2 separate regions of the Homo sapiens genome follow, and region 2 is linked to region 1. The links are contacts of gene promoters, found by promoter capture Hi-C in human tissues and cell types (Jung and others, 2019). All regions are on one chromosome and are shown on one strand. The core of a region is centred on a gene start or on the middle of the fragment in contact, and the rest is flanking DNA. Distances in the headings are between cores, read along the strand shown.

Evidence for each region. The method cuts DNA at HindIII sites, captures the fragments that hold promoters and counts their contacts. A contact is called where the count stands out against the background at its distance.
Region 2: a fragment that was not itself captured here is called in contact with the fragment with the promoter of LALBA in region 1 in 2 of the 25 tissues and cell types used here (H1 embryonic stem cells and stomach).

Annotation. Positions count from the first base shown.
Region 1 is chr12:48,568,445-48,572,020 of GRCh38, forward strand. LALBA (lactalbumin alpha) reads right to left here and starts at 1,602. Exons shown (of 4, transcript NM_002289.3): 1 at 1,444-1,602; 2 at 638-796; 3 at 73-148. The coding sequence starts at 1,576. The HindIII fragment of the contact is 2,890 bases long and covers 324-3,213 here.
Region 2 is chr12:48,613,579-48,617,154 of GRCh38, forward strand. No RefSeq gene overlaps it. Among named protein-coding and RNA genes, the nearest start is that of SNORA2C, 39 kb to the right of the region's middle. The HindIII fragment of the contact is 5,812 bases long and covers 1-3,576 here.

The DNA.
Region 1 (3,576 bases), core at 352-2,851:
AGGAAAGGGGTGCTGGGCTAATGGGGTAAGGAGAAGGAGGATGGGGAAATAGAAAATAGAATAAGGATTCACCAGTAGTCAATTCCTTTAATATCCAGGATCTTCTTGGCACACATTATGTCATCAGTAATGTCATCATCCAGGAACTCTGGCAGGAGTTACAGGGAAAGGATTGAGACAGCTGACAAGTATTACCCAGAAAGGCACTGAGTTCCCCTAACCCCTGGATCCAGTGGGTTCTCTAAACTCAAGGCTTGTGCCTGTTGTCTTTCTATATGAAAGGACCAATGTGGTAATGTCTAACCCTGGGTAGGGACTTCCTTCATTTCCCTGGGATATCTCTGGAGGAATCATCAGCTTCATCAACTGACTTACCCTGAAAATGCAGACAATCAGATTCCAAGACTCTCAGACAGCTCCGATTGTCTACCACTGAACCTCAAGGAACTGTCTGGGGATTTGATGACCATGAAAAATCCAAACAGCTTCTTACTCAGTACTGCCAATTCAAGTCCCACAATTTTTATAGAGCCCAGCCAAGGCAATGAAGCCTGAGGTCTGCTTGGCACTAAAAAGGAGATTATCCCAAGGGCAGGCCTCAGAAAAACAGAGAAAGAGGGTTATAGGGGCTACTCACTGTCACAGGAGATGTCACAGATGTTCCTTGACTGAGGGACCTGGCTGCTCTTGCACCAAAGCTTATTACTGATCTGGAAGAGTCCATATTCCGTGCTTTCATTGTTTTCAACTATGGCTTGTGTGTCATAACCACTGGTGTGAAACATGGTACAGATCACTGAGGGAAAGATGAGAAAGAGATACCACAGAGATGTACAGGATCTGCATAAAGGAGGAACTGTAATTCTCAGACAAAAATGCTTTCCAGCCAATCTCCAAAGATGGCAAAGCTCAGAGTTTCTTGATGAGATGGAGAATTCCAAAAAAAAATCAGACAATAAGAGAAAGAAAGGATAGGAAAATAAATGGGGCCAGGCATGATGGCTCACGCTTGTAATCCCAACACTTTGGGAGGCTGAGGAGGGCGGATCACCTGAGGTCAGAAGTTTGAGACCAGCCTGGCCAACATGGTGAAACCCTGTCTCTACAAAAAATACAAAATTAGCCAGGCATGGTGGTGGGTGCCTGTAATTCCAGCTACTTGGGAGGCTGAGGCAGGAGAATCACTTGAACCGAGGAGGCGGAGGTTGCAGTGAGCCGAGATTACACCATTGCACTCCAGTCTGGGCAACAAGAGCGAAACTCCACCTCAAAAATAAATAAATACATACATATATACATACATGAAATAAAAGAGTATGCAAATGAGCAGAAAAGAGGATGATTAGATAATTAAGTAAAAGTGGAGGGGCGAAGTGGAAGAAAGAGGGGATGGAGGAGAGAAGCGTATGAGGAATGGATGAAACACAGAGGCAGGGAACTCACATTCAGGCAAAGCGATGCCTCCATAACCATCTATGTCTTTCAGCAGCTGGGACAGCTCACATTTTGTGAATTGCTTGGCCAGGATGGCAGGGAACAGGATGCCCACCAGGAACAGAGGGACAAAGAACCTCATTTTGGCTACCCCCAAGAACCTGAAATGGAAGCATCACTCAGTTTCATTTATTTATATTCATGCAGAAAGCCTCAGGGGCTCTGGTACCAAGCCCTACATCTAGGAAGAGAATGAAGAGAGACTGGTCATGCCAAGACAGAAACGCTGAGCCTGCCAGCTTCCTTCCATAATTCACCCTACTTTTCCTTTCCCTCTCCCAGTATCTAGTCCATAGCAGGTATTGTTCTCTGGCCAGAAAGAGTTCAAACCATGATCCTGCTTCCCATTTGGCTTTGTTTAGCCCTTTGTTTCTTGTAGGGTTGGTTCTGGGAAGCACTGTCTCTGGTTACTTGAGGAACAAAGAAGGGCATGGGGGCAATATAAGAAGTGAGGCAATCAGAAAATACAATAAAGTTCTATACCGAGCTTCCCCCTTCCCCCCTAGAGACATGCAGAATGTGGAGAGGGGGTGTATGTCATCACATGCCACAGTCCCAGGATCAGAGCTGGCACTTGTCCAACCAATCCAGCCATGTAACAAGGCCCAGAATTAGTTCTTTAATATGGTAGCTCATGACTGAAGGCTCAGAAATAGGAATAGAATATGGGAACGTAGACTACAACAATCCGATATAACTTGGATCTTAAGACTTCCTACTTAAGGAAAATGCATAATTGAAAAGCCTGTATGAAAGCATCTAGGCCAGGCACAGTGGCTCACACCTGTAATCCCGGCATTTTGGGAGGCCGAGTCTGGTGGATCACTTGAGCCCAGGAGCTCGAGACCAGCCTGGGCAACATGGTAAAATCCCATCTCTACAAAAAAAATTAGCTGGGCATGGTGACATGTGCCTGTAGTCCCAGCTACTTGAGGGGCTGAGGCAGGAGGAACACTTGAGCACAGGAGGTCGAGGCTGCAGTGAGCCATGTTCACTCCACTGCACTCCATCCATCCTGGGAGACAAAGTGAGACCCTATCTTTAAAAAAAAAAAAAAAAAAAAAGAATCTAGCTATCCTACGAGCTATTATCAGATTCCCCACCCCTAACCACTCCTACCGTAAATAACCAAATACTACACTGGCATTGAGACATTACATAAATCTAAGACCAATAACTTGTAGACAACCTCAGAGTTGGCCACAGAAAGTGGGAAGGACCCAAGCCAGTGGAAAGATTGGACTTTAAGGCTGAACAAGCTTATGTCTGGAATCTCTATAAGGTCAGTGCCCCTGAGCAAGTAGAGTTGAGGATACTAGTTCTGAATAGCTCCTTTAATTTGCTGGCATGAAGCTTCATGTCATGGTGACAAGTAGCTCTTAGCTCCTTCATGCCACCATTCGTCTTCTTTGTCCTCATCTCTAAACCTGATTTCTTCTTCTTCTTCCTTTTTTTTTTTTTTTTTTGACCAAGTCTCACTCTGTTGCCCAGGCTGGAATGCAGTGGCGCGATCTTGGCTCACTGCAACCTCTGCCTCCCAGGCTCAAGTGATTCTCCTGCCTCAGCCTCCCGAGTAGCTGGGACTACAGGCACGTGTTACCATGCCCGGTTAATTTATGTATTTTTAGTAGAGACGGAGTTTCTGCATGTTGGCCAGGCTGGTCTCAAACTTCTGAGCTCAGGCAATTTGCCTGCCTGGGCCTCGGCCTCCCAAAGTGCTAGGATTACAGACAGGAGCCGCTGCGCTGTTTCTTATGTTTCAGGGAACATTTATCCCAACCAATCTATTTAAGACTTACATACTGAAGGTCTTCCATATCGTTATCTCCTACATGTATTCAGAGTCAGGGAAAAGTCCTCTCAGTTAAATCCTGTCTTCTGTACCATGGATAACCAGTATATGAAGTGGCATGAGTGAAGGGAATGTGGAGGATCTTGGTGTGCCAGAAGGGATGAGCAGAAAGTTCTGATAGCAAGAGATACATGTTCAGAAACACAACAGAAGTGGAGCCACTCCATTTCTCCGCATTCCACCCAGAGGCACTGCAAGGGTACACGACAGGAATGGGAATTCTATCACTC
Region 2 (3,576 bases), core at 434-2,933, 45 kb after region 1:
AGGTTAGTGTTGTTATGTGTGAATTTGATCCTGTCATCATGATGCTAGCTGGTTATTTTGCAGACCTTGTTTATGTGGTTGCTTCATATTGTCACTGGTCTGTGTACTTCACTGTATTTTTATAGTGGCTGGTAGTGGTTTTCTTTTCCATATTTAGTGCTTCCTTCAGGAGCTCTTGCAAGGCAGGCCTGGTGGTGATAAATTCCCTAAGCATTTGCTTCTCTGAAAAGGGTCTTAGTTCTCCTTTGCATATGAAGCTTAGCTTGGCTAGATATAAAATTCCAGGTTGGAAATTCTTTTCTTTAAGAATGTTGAATATTGGCCCTCAATCTCTTCTGGCTTGTATGGTTTCCACTGAGAGGTTTGCTGTTAGTCTGATGGGTTTTCCTTTGTAAGTGACCTAGCCTTTCTTTCTGGCTGCCCTTAACATTTTTTTCTTTCATGTAGACCTTGGAGACTCTGAGGATTATGTGTCTTGGGGTTGATCTTCTCGTGGAGTATCTTACTGGAGTTTTCTGCATTTCCTGAATTTGAATGTTGGTCTGTCTTGCTAGGTTGCAGAAGTTCTCCTGGATGATATTCTGTAGTATGTTTTCCAACTTGGCTCCATTTGCCCCATCTCTTTCAGGTACCCCAATCAGTCATAGGTTAGGTCTTTTTAAACAGTCTCATATTTCTCTGAGGTTTTGTTCATTCCTTTTCATTCTTTTTTGCCTGTCTTATTCAGAAAGATTGTCTTCAAGCTCCGAGATTATTACTATTCTTGTCTGCCTGTCTTATTTCAGCAAGATAGTCTTGAAGCTCTGAGATTCTTTCCTCCACTTGGTCTATTCTGCTACTGATACTTGTGACACATTGTGATGTTCTCATGTTGTGTTTTCAGCTCCATCAGGTCTGTTTTGTTCCGCTCTAAACTGGCTATTCTGGCTATTAGCTCCTGTATTGTTTCATTTTGTATTTTGTAGAGGTGGAGATTTGCTCTGTCACCCAGGCTGGAGTGCAGTGGCCTGATCTCAGCACACTGCAACCACTGCCTCCTGAGTTCACTGGTTCTCCTGCCTCAGCCTCCCAATTAGCTGGGATTACAGGCAAGCACCACTGTGCCCAGCTAATTTTTTTGTATTTTTGGTACAGACAGTTTTCATCATGTTGGCCAGTCTGGTCTCAAACTCCTGACCTCATGATCTGCCTGCCTCAGCCTCCAAAGTCCTGGGATTATAGGCATGAACCACTGCACCCAGCCTCCTATATTGTTTTATCATGATTCTTAGCTTCTTTGCATTGGGTTAGAACATGCTCTTTTAGTTCAGTGAGGTTCATTATTACCCATCATCTGAAGCCTACTTCTGTCAATTCAGCCATCTCAGCCTGAGCCCAGTTTTGTGTCCTTGCTGGAAAAGTGTTGTGGTCATTTGGAGGAAAAAAGGCCCTCTGGCTTTTTGAGTTTTCAGCTTCTTTGCATTGATTCTTCCTCATCTTTGTGGGCTTATCAACCTTGAATCTTTGAGGTTGCTAACCTTTGAACAGACTTCTTGTGGGGTCTTTTTTGTTGATGTTGTTGCTGTTGTTTTCTGTTTGTTTGTTTGCTTGTTTGTTTTTCTCTTAACAGTCAAGCTACACTACTGTAGGGCTTCTGTGGTTTGCTGGGGGTCCACTTCAGACCCTAGTTGCCTTGTTTTTTCCAGTACTTGGAGGTATCACCAGTGAAGGCTGCAAAACAGCAAAGATGGCTGCCAGCTCCTTCCTCTGGAAACTTTGTCCCAGGTGGGTACTGACCTGTTGCTGGCCCAAACACACTGGTAGGAGGTGTCTGGAGACCCCTGTTGGGAGGTCTCACCCAGTCAGGAGGAATGGGATCAGGGACCCACTTAAATAAGCAATCTGTGCCGGGCACAGTGGGCTCATGCCTGTAATCCAACACCCTGGGAGGCCGAGGCAGGTGGATCACGAGGTCAGGAGATCGAGACCATCCTGGCTAACATGGTGAAACCCCATCTCCACTAAAAAAAAACAAAAAAAAAAAATTAGCCAGGTGTGGTGGCAGGTGCCTGTAGTCCCAGCTACTCGGGAGGCTGAGGCAGGAGAATGGCATGAACCTGGGAGGTGGAGCATGCAATGAGCCGAGATCATGCCACTGCACTCCAGCCTGGGGGACAGAGTGAGACTCCGTCTCAAAAATAAATAAATAAATAAGCAATCTGACTGCTTTTTGATAGAGCAGGTGTGCTGCACTGGGGGGAGCCCTTCCTTGTCCAGACTGTTTGTATTCTCCAAAGCCGATAGGCTGGAAAAGACTGAGTCAACCAAACCACAAAGACAGCAGCTGCACCTCCCCCAGGGGCTCTATCCCAGGGAGAGATCAGAGCTTTTTCTGTAGAACCCTAGCTGGAGTGGCTGAAGCTCCCACAGAGAGGTTGCACCCAGTGAGGAAGAATGAACTGGGGTCCCGCTTAAAGAAGCAGTCTGACCACAGTCTGGCAAGGTGGCTGTGTTGCTTTGTGAGGGACTTTTCCTCATCCAGACTTTATATTCTCCAAAACCAGCAGACTGGAATGGCTGAGTCTACCAAACTACAGCAATTATGAGTTTAATTTCTTTTATAGATATAAGATTATTCAGATTTGTATTAATTCTTATGTCATTCTGGTCATTAGCATCTTTCAAGTAATTTAAAAATTTTATTTAAATTGTCAAATGTATTGGCATAAGGTTGTTCATAATACTGCCTTTTAATTCTTTTAATATCTGTAGGGTTTGTAGTGATACCTCTTCTTTTGTTTATTGATATTGATAATTTGTGTTTGTCTGGGTTTAAGTCAATTTAGCTGATAATTTATCAATTTTATTGATTTTTTTCAAAGAGCTAATTTTTTGCCTGTAATCCCAGCAATTTGGAAGGCCAGACCACTTGAGCCTAGGAGTCCAAGACCAGCCTGGGCAACATGGTGAAACCCTGACTCTACAAAAAATCTAAAACATTAGCCAGGCATGGTGGTGTATACCTGTAGTTCCAGCTACCTGGGAGGCTGAGATGGGAGGATCACCTGAGCCCAAGAGGTTGAGGCTGCAGTGAGCCATGATCATATCACTGCACTCCAGCCTGAATGACAGAACAATACCCTGTTTCAAATTTTTAAAAACTAATTTTTGTTTTATTGGTTTTTCTCCTTTATATTCATTGATTTCCATTCTTTGTTATTTTCTCTGTTCTATTTACTCTGAGTCCATCTTGCTTTTCCTGATCTACCTTGTTAAAGTGGAAGCTTAAATTATTGGTTTTAAATATTTATCTTTCTAACATAAGCATTTAAAGACATAAAGTTTCTTCTAAGCACTGATTTAGCAGCATTTCACAATTTTTCATATGTAATTATTATAATTTAGTTCAAAATATTTTCTAATTTCCCTTGTGATTTCTTCCTTTACTCATGGGTTATTTAAACACACATTGCATGCGAGGCACAATGGCTCATGCCTGTAATCCCAGCACTTTGGGAGGCCAAGGCAGGAGAATTTTTTGGGGCCAGGGGTTTGAGACCAGCCTGGGCAATATAGCAAGACCTTGTCTCTACAAAA